3 separate regions of the Homo sapiens genome follow, and regions 1 and 2 are each linked to region 3. Evidence: promoter capture Hi-C in 16 types of primary human blood cells and fetal thymus (Javierre and others, 2016). All regions are on one chromosome and are shown on one strand. Each heading gives the region's core, a stretch centred on a gene start or on the middle of the fragment in contact. The rest is flanking DNA. Distances are from core to core; before and after follow the strand shown. Region 1 holds the start of RSU1 (Ras suppressor protein 1). Region 2 overlaps STAM (signal transducing adaptor molecule). Region 3 holds the start of MLLT10 (MLLT10 histone lysine methyltransferase DOT1L cofactor).

Region 1 (2,700 bases), core at 98-2,597, 4.7 Mb before region 3:
CCACGTCAGCCTGAAGAACTGCTTTAGCTCACTTATCACAGGTTTTTCAAATATTAGAATTAGTAGCCAACATCTAAAAATTAGCAAATTTCACATAAAAATATAGAATCTTGGTTCCTTTAAGAAAATAATCTGGCACATTGGGCCAACATTCCTATGGTGACATGTGTCTGAGTAGCAGGTGCAGCAGCTGGCCCCTTCAAGTGGGACACCTATCACCTAGTTCATAACCGCCCCTGACCGCCCTCACTTGGAGGCATGTGAATCTGCAATCCCTGGTTTTAAGGGAGAGGGTAACACCATAGACAGGGGTTACAGGAAAATGACACTGAAAGTGACCCAGTGATTAAACTGGGCAGTGAAACTGAAGGCAAGAGGGCAAGTTAGGAGGATTTCACCACAGCATGAGGAGGTGACAAAAGCCTGAACCAAGTTCGGAGAATAAATACTCAGAAGAATGTAAAGATTCAAGAAATGCTTAAAACGCTCCAGGCACAAGAATGCTTATTAACCATGGAACTTTTCTGTGTCATTTGTTCATGGACAAAGACTGTATTAGGAGACAGGAAGAAGGACTCAAAATTAATTTTCAATTTATAATTAAAGTGACTATTAAGCAAACTGTGGAAAATCCACCTCAATGCCATACAGCAGAGACAACCGATGAGGCACAGCTGTCTGTGTGATTCTCATCGTGGACTCTCAGGATCGTTTTCCAGGTGGAACAGAACAAATCCTACTGCAAACCCTCTGCGCGAAGCCCCTGACAAGTGAGGTTTACAAGCAGGGGCTGGGGTCTAAACCAGTACAATCGCTCACAGCAGGACCAGCAGTGAATTGGCAAACTTAGAAAGCCTTCCAGCTCATCCACGGGAGAGTCCTGCCCGAGAACTCACAGAGGCCGTTGACATCCAGCATGTTGGAGATGCCCCGGTCACTCATGTCCACCTCGGGCTGGTTCTTCTCCCGGCTCTCCTCCACCAACTTCTTCAGAGACTTGGACATGGTCTGCACCGAACAACAACAAAGCACGTGGGCGATGACAGCAAGCGCAGAGGCGGAAAGGCAAGAGGCCTTCGCTGCCACTCTGAGGCTTCCCCAGGGTTGGAGCGGGTGGGCGTCCGAGGGCGTCCCAGGGGCTGGTCCGGGTGCGGGGAGGGGATGGAGTGGGAAGGGTTCAGCCCCGCTGCGGCCACGCAGCGAGAAGCAACCCCAAGTGCAACACCGCACACACTCACCACGGAAGGTAGCCCCTAAGACGATGGGCGTGCAACCACAAGCTTCGGCAGAACGCACTCCAGCTGCCCTCACTCCCTGCAACACCGGCACTGAACAGCGAACACGCCCTGTCTCGGCGCCCCGCGCAGGCGCACACAGCGCCGCTGCCAGCTCCACGCCCGACCCTACCCATATTAGGAGAACAGCTCTCCAGACGTGTCTCCAGGGCCAGGCTCCGCCCTTAAAAGTCTGTGGAAGAGGCTGGCTAATCACGTTCGTTATTCGGCTTCGAGACCCCGCCCCACGCTGAGGATAGTTTATCCCGGTGGCGTCCACCCCACGGTTTGGGACGCTGATTGGGCCGAAGTTGGCGCGTGCGCAGTAGACTTGGCGCAAGCTCAGTTGATGGGTCGAAGCCCAGAGGGCTGTGGGCGGAAGTGGGGAAGTTTGTGGCGTGACTGTGTAAGGGAGGGTGGTGGCTCAGGGTGGGTGTTGCGAAAGCTGGAAGTAAATTGCTTCCGAATGTTTCGCTTGTGTAATAGCCGCTCCACTCGCCAGAAGTTGCTACCCTGAGCCCGTCTCCACAATGTGCCTCTGAGGGACCTTGTGGGGCACGCAGTTTCCCGCCCTATTAAGAGCTTCTCCAGGCGGGGATTCCGGCGCGGTCTGCGTTTCCCCAGCGCCCTGCTGGAAATCTTTTTTGACAGGTTTCTAAGGCTGGCTTTTAGCCTTTTTACTTGTAGCTAGAACCTACAAGTAAAACCCTACTATTTTAAAAGTCATTTGAAAACACCACTAAAGCGATGTGTCTTTCCCAACTAGGACTTTTACATTTGTGAAACATGACGTTCTGGCTTCCAGGAATCTCTTGCTTTCTCTTCCAAAAGCAACCAAATTTTAAATTCTAGAGAAACTGTTGCCCTCTGCCTCCCTATTTCCTGACCCAGTCTCAGTCACCCAGCAACATCCTGTGCTTCTCTCACCAAAAACCCTGTCCTGAGAGACTATTTTATACTATGGAATAAAAATTGGCACCAGGCACTTTTCTTCTACTGGTCACCTAAATTGATGATAAGACGGATGCCACACATATGCATTTATATATTGTAGATTGTAGCAGGGATCAAAGCCTTAAGGAGATGTGGTAAAATAATGTAATTATATCTCCGAACCAATTGGATAAAAAAAGGATCTGCACTCTTAAATTCGAAAGCAGGTATTTCTTGCTTAAAAAACATTCCAGATGAAAGAGTTATTCCTCCATTAGTCTTCTTTGATCTGGAACCGTCCTTGGCTTTTATGTTTATTGAACTAGACATTATTTAAGAATACAGACCAGGTATTGTGTGGAATATCCTTCAAAGTAAGTTTGATGTTCCCTTTCAGGTTATGAATTTTTGGAGAAACACCACTAAAGCGATGTGTCTTTTCCAGTGCATGATATCAAGGTACAGATGGCATCGGTTTCTCCCAGTATAGGTG
Region 2 (2,773 bases), core at 15-2,514, 3.9 Mb before region 3:
TCCCAGCTACTCAGGAGGCTGAGGCAGGAGAATTGCTTGGACCTGGGAGGTGGAGGTTGCAGTGAGCCGAGATCGCACCACTGCACTCCAGCCTGGGTGACAGAGCGAGACTCCGTCTTAAAAAAAAAAAAAAAAAAAAAGATAGTTTCAGATAGCTTGCTTGTTTGCCCATGGCTAATACTGGAGAAATCAAAAGCACATTGGAAGTTCTGATCATGTGGTTAGGTCTCATTGACTTTTAACTTCACTGTAGGTTGGTCTGGTGGGCCATTGACTATGGAATTCTGCCTCTCCACTCCTCCCCCTGCAATATTACTGTCTTTAGGTCTTTCCTCTTGGGCTGACATAGAGCCCCCAGAAAAGAGTCTTCTGATTTCTTGGAGGGTAACGGTACAAATGTTGAATCAGCCTTGCATACCTGGGATGAATCTTAATTGGTCATGGCATATGTAATTCTTTTTATACATTGTTGGATTCAGTTTGCTGATGTTTTTGTAATCGGTGGAAGGTATCTGAGTTACTGGCAGTGAGTCTGTATGGGTCTGCACCAATCTCAGTTCTTGCCTCCTCAGAAGAAAGAATTCATCTAAGGGGCGTAAGGCAGAAAAAGAGATGAAGCAAGTTTCAGAGCAGGAGTGGAAGTTTATTAAAAAGCTTTACAGCAGGAAAGAAAGGAAAGTGCCCTTGGAAGAAATCCAAGTGGGTGACTTGAAGAGTAAGTGCGGTTTTTAACTTTGATCCCAGGACTCTATAGGTTGGCCCCTTTCCTGTGATTCTTCCCTTAGAGTGGGCGGCCCACATGCGCAGTGCCCTCCTTATACTTGGGAGGTGAGCATGCACAGTGTGTTTAGAAAGTTGTATGCATGCCCATCGGAGGCTTTTTTCCCTTTTCTGGTGGAGTGCCCCAGGAAGGTCGTATACTGCCATTTTGTCTCTTAATGCCCCTGCCTGGGCTCACTCACTCAGTGCCTGAGATTTTATTGGAGCCCCCTTTTTTGCTTCTCCCTGGTGCCTGCATTCATTTAACACTTTAATGTTTAACACTTGTGGACTGTTAGGAGCTTCTCTCTCCTTGGTGCAAGCTGCCAATTTATCACTTTTAGAGAGGCAATGTGATAATTGCTGAATCACCCAACATTCCTAGTGGGTGTGGGAGAACCCTCTCCTGCCCTGCTCGTACCTGTCTTACTACCTGTAACATTTTGTTGAGGATTTTTGCATTTATGTTCATGAGAGATATTGGCCTATAGTTTTCTTGTAATGTTTTTGTCTGGTTTTGGTATCAGAGTAATGCTGGCCTCACAGAATGAGTTAGGAAGTATCTCCTCTGCTTCTATATACTGCAAGAGATTACACAGAATTAGTATAATTTCTTCCTTAAATATTTGGTAAAATTCACCAGTGAACCCATCTGGGCCTGTGCTTTCTGTTTTAGAAGATTATTAATTATTGATTCAGTTTTTTAAATAGATGTGGGCCATTTAGATTGTCTGTTTCTTGTATGTATTTCAGCAGATTATGTCTTTCAAGGCATTGGTCCATTTCATCTAGGTTATCAATTTTGTGGGCATAGAGTTGTTCATAATATTCCTTCATTTTCTTTTTAATGTCCATGGGGTTTGTAGTGATGTCCCTTCTTTCATTTCTGATATTAGTAATTGGTGTTTTCTCTCTCTTTTTTTTTTTTCCTTAGTTTAGCTTGGCTAGCAGCATATCGGTTTTATTGATCTTTTAAAATAACCAGCTTTTGGTTGTGCTGATTTTCTGTATTGGTCTTATGTTCAGATTCATTGGTTTCTGCTCTAATTTTTGTTGTTTGTTTTCTTCTGCTTGCTTAGTTTGGATTTAATTTGCTCTTCTAGTTTCCTAAGGTAGAAGCTTATTGATTTTAGATCTTGATTCTTTTTAAAAATATGTATTCAATGCTATAAATTTCCCTCTAACCACTGCTTTTGTTGCATCCCACAAATTTTGCGAAGTTGTATTTTCACTTAGTTCAAAGTATTTTAAAATTTCTTTTAAGTTTTTTTTTTACTCTTGTTTAAAAGTGTGTTAGTCTCCATGTACTTTGGGATTTTCCAGCTATCTTTCTGTTATTGATTTCTAGTTTATTCCATTGTAATCACTATGTGATTTCTATTGTTTTAGATTTGTCTTGGTTTGTTTTATGACCCAGAAGGTGGTCTGTCTTGGTGAATGCTGCATGAGAGCTTGGGAAGAATGTGTATTCTGTTGTTTTTGGATGAAGTAGTCTATAAATGTCAATTGTCAATTATATACAGTTGATTGATGGTGTTGTTGAGTTCAACTATGTCCTTTCTGATTTTCTGCCTACCTGACCTGTCCATTTCTTCTTTTTTTGGTCTTGCTCTGTCGCCCAGGCTGGAGTGCAGTGGTGCAATCTTGGTTCACTGCAACCTCCACCTCCCGGGTTTGAGTGATCCTCCTATCTCAGCCTCCTGAGTATGTTCAGCTAATTTTTGTATTTTTTTTGTAGAGGAGAGGTTTCGTCATGTTGCCCAGGCTGGTCTTGAACTCCTGGGCTCAAATGATCTGCCCACTTCGGCCTCCCAAAGTGTTGGGATTACAGGCAAAAGCCACTGTGCCTGGCCTCATCCTTTAACTTTTAATCTCTATGTGTTTTTATGTCTAAAATGAGTTTCTTATAGACAACATACAGTTGTGTGTTGTTTTTTGATTCACTTTGACAATTTCTGCCTTTTAATTGGTGTAGTATGCAGACCATTGACATGTAAAGTGACTGTTAATATAC
Region 3 (2,700 bases), core at 186-2,685:
CACAGATTTCTAGCAATTAATTTGAAATAGAAAAACAGCCATGATACCTTTTCTAACCCCCCTTTATCAGAAGAACATTTAGAAGGCTTTTAAAGCCCAAACCATTATATTATCTTTTGGCGACCGACTAGGAGAACTTGGGTTCTCTATGCTTTAGCACTGTGAAAGTGCATCTTCCAGATCAGCACATTTATAATGCGAATTGCTGATAAAGAACCATTTTGTACCTGCAAGGTATTAATCAAAAGTCATGAATTCGCCTTTTAACTGGGCTTGTCATTTAAACAATCTATGCATAATTCTGATTTCATGCGAAACTTTTCTAATTAGACATTTTTTGCTTAAACATCAATATTGGGCTTTACGGATGCATAAGGAATAGGCAGACAGTGGAAGATTTTAGTTTAAAAGTGCTCAGCATCCAGCTAATTAATCTATGCAGATAGGCCTAATCCATTTTCCATTTGTTTGTGAGGTGGGAGCTCTCATCTTTCTGCCACTTTTAAATGACCTCACATTTCCAAGTATAAATTTGGAGAAAAGACCCGGATCAGAGGAATCCTCCATCAAAACTGGACGCCACTGTCTGATGGCGTTAATTATGTTTTAGCGACTGACTAGGAGGGCTAGAGTTCCTTCTTCCTTTTGGTGTAATACAACTGCATTTTCCGGATCATCGTATTATATTGCTAATTCCGGATAAACCACCATTTGTCCTGCACACCGAGCTGAGGGGCGCCTTGGCGTTCCCTCTCCGAGTGCAGCCCTAACACAGGCTTTTGACCTTCAGCCTGGAATACACTTTCGTTTGTCATTGGGGCCCACGTAGTGCGAAAATGGGCGGCAGATTTGGTAGGACTTCCAGCGGGTGAACTTTGGGAAGAGTCCAGGACGTGAATTTAATGGGTGGAGTGGCTGCGGCAGCACTGTGAAGTTAGCGCGGCCAACTGCAGGAAGCCATGCTTCATTACACCCTTCATGGAAGCTGGCACACTCGCCCCACCCTCGTTTTCCACGGGCCAGTCTTGGAGGAAAAGGCCAGCAGGTAGGTTCCCAGGGCACGGAGATGATGCCCCCGGGGACTCCCCTCTGGCGATTCTGAGAAAACCCCTTCCCAGCCCTGGGCGTCCACCTCCCCCGCCACCTCCCAGGCCTCTTCCCGACGCTCACACGCGGCCCGCGCCACCAGCGCTGCAGAGGGCGGCCCTAACGTCCCCGCCCCCGCGTGCGCGCCCCCGCGCCCGTTCATTCCGGCCTCCGCGCGCCGCCGGCTCCCCTCGCGCCCACCCCCAGCACACCTCGGCGGCGGCGAGCGGCGCGGGGGAGGGGGACGGGGCCCCGGAGGTAGGCCGGGGGCAGCCAACAGGCCGCGGCAGCGCGCACGCAGGGCTAGCCTCGCCCAGGCCTCCTCCCTCACGCCGGCCGCAGGACGGGCGCGCACGCCAAGTGACGCTCCGAGGAGGAAGCGCAGCCCCCTTCCCCTCCCTCGCTGCCCCTGGCCCAGCGGGAGCCCCCCCTCCCCCCAGTGCGCCTGTGCGGAGGCCCTCTTGATTATGTGTGCCCTCTCCGGGCGCCCGCGTTAGCGGCCGGGTGGAGGTGGGGAGGGAAGACGCTGAGGAGGAGGAGGAGGCGGAGGAGGCGGTGGAGGGGAGGTGGGGGGAATCAGCAAGGACATGGCTCCTGACTCCTGTGCGGAACGTGAGTGACTGAGCGGCAAAGCCCGAGTGAGCGAGCGGTGGGCTGCCGGGCCGGGCGGGGGGCGCCGGGGCGGGCTCGGGGGGCTGTGTGGGGGGGAAGCACTAATCGGCTTGCATGTGTTTTTTAATGGTCCCCCCAACTCCCTCTTAGATGGTCTCTAGCGACCGGCCCGTGTCACTGGAGGACGAGGTCTCCCATAGTATGAAGGAGATGATTGGAGGCTGTTGCGTTTGCTCAGACGAGAGAGGCTGGGCCGAGAACCCGCTGGTTTATTGCGACGGGCACGGCTGCAGCGTCGCGGTGCATCAAGGTAAACACCCAACCGCCCGCCGGGGCGCGCCGGCCTGCGCCCAACGGTCACCGCCGCCCCCACCTGGGCCGCAACCGCCGGCGCCCCCGCCCCGTGCCGCGGCCGCGGGAGGGACGCGGAGGGTCCGCGGCGGGGCGCGGGGGGTGTGGGCCGCGCATGTGGGAGAAAGTGCGTGTGGCCCGGACTGTCATGTGATTCCGCTCTCACTCTCTCAAGTGTCATTCGGCCGCCGCCTGCGCCTGGGGCCGGGGTCTGCTGACTCGGCGGGGCGGGGCGGGGCAGGGCGGCGGCCGCGCCCTCGAGATCTGGGCCGGGGTGGGGGCGGGGGCGGGGGCGGGGGCGGTGCGCGCCCTTCCCGGGGTTCCCGGGGCCACGGGGGTGGGTTTGGGAGAGTGGAGCGCCCTCTTCTCCCCTGGCCTGCAGCCGCCTGTCTGCCGCAGTGTTTGGAGACTTCCTGTGGCGTGGAGACGGGCTCGGGAACGCGGCGCCAGTGTGGGGAGGCTGGGGGTCGCCTTGCCTCTTTAGATGGGGAGGGATGCGGGGCCCGTTGCACCCCGAGCCAGAAGGCTCGGGCCCTGCCGCCGCCGCCCGGTAGCTGTCTGCGGAGGAGATGGCGGAGTCCGTTGCTGACCATGCGGGAGTGGCGGGGCTGCTGCAGCGCCTGTGGGGTGGCCGCGGCAGGCCACCACCAG

Evidence for each region. Contacts are between HindIII fragments. The CHiCAGO score rates a contact against its expected background, and 5 or more counts as called.
Region 1: the fragment with the promoter of RSU1 here is called in contact with the fragment with the promoter of MLLT10 in region 3 in 2 of 17 cell types (fetal thymus and total CD4 T cells); the score reaches 5.7 in fetal thymus.
Region 2: a contact is called between a fragment that was not itself captured here and the fragment with the promoter of MLLT10 in region 3, in 1 of 17 cell types (erythroblasts). The highest score is 6.5, in erythroblasts.

Annotation. Positions count from the first base shown.
Region 1 is chr10:16,816,077-16,818,776 of GRCh38, forward strand. It overlaps RSU1 (Ras suppressor protein 1), which reads right to left and starts at 1,348. Exons shown (of 9, transcript NM_012425.4): 1 at 1,239-1,348; 2 at 897-1,008. The coding sequence starts at 1,005. LOC105376435 (a long non-coding RNA gene) reads left to right here and starts at 1,623. Exons shown (of 3, transcript XR_930708.3): 1 at 1,623-1,680; 2 at 2,605-2,666. RefSeq lists enhancers at 827-986, 1,657-1,766, 1,797-1,886, 1,917-1,966. The HindIII fragment of the contact is 3,392 bases long and covers 1,279-2,700 here.
Region 2 is chr10:17,656,175-17,658,947 of GRCh38, forward strand. All of the region lies in intron 1 of STAM (signal transducing adaptor molecule), which reads left to right. Among named protein-coding and RNA genes, the nearest start is that of STAM, 13 kb to the left of the region's middle. The HindIII fragment of the contact is 1,224 bases long and covers 653-1,876 here.
Region 3 is chr10:21,532,797-21,535,496 of GRCh38, forward strand. MLLT10 (MLLT10 histone lysine methyltransferase DOT1L cofactor) reads left to right here and starts at 1,436. Exons shown (of 23, transcript NM_001195626.3): 1 at 1,436-1,724; 2 at 1,849-2,008. The coding sequence starts at 1,849. RefSeq lists enhancers at 1,005-1,718, 2,434-2,700 and silencers at 1,084-1,613, 1,624-1,693, 1,804-2,143, 2,284-2,373. The HindIII fragment of the contact is 10,036 bases long and covers 1-2,700 here.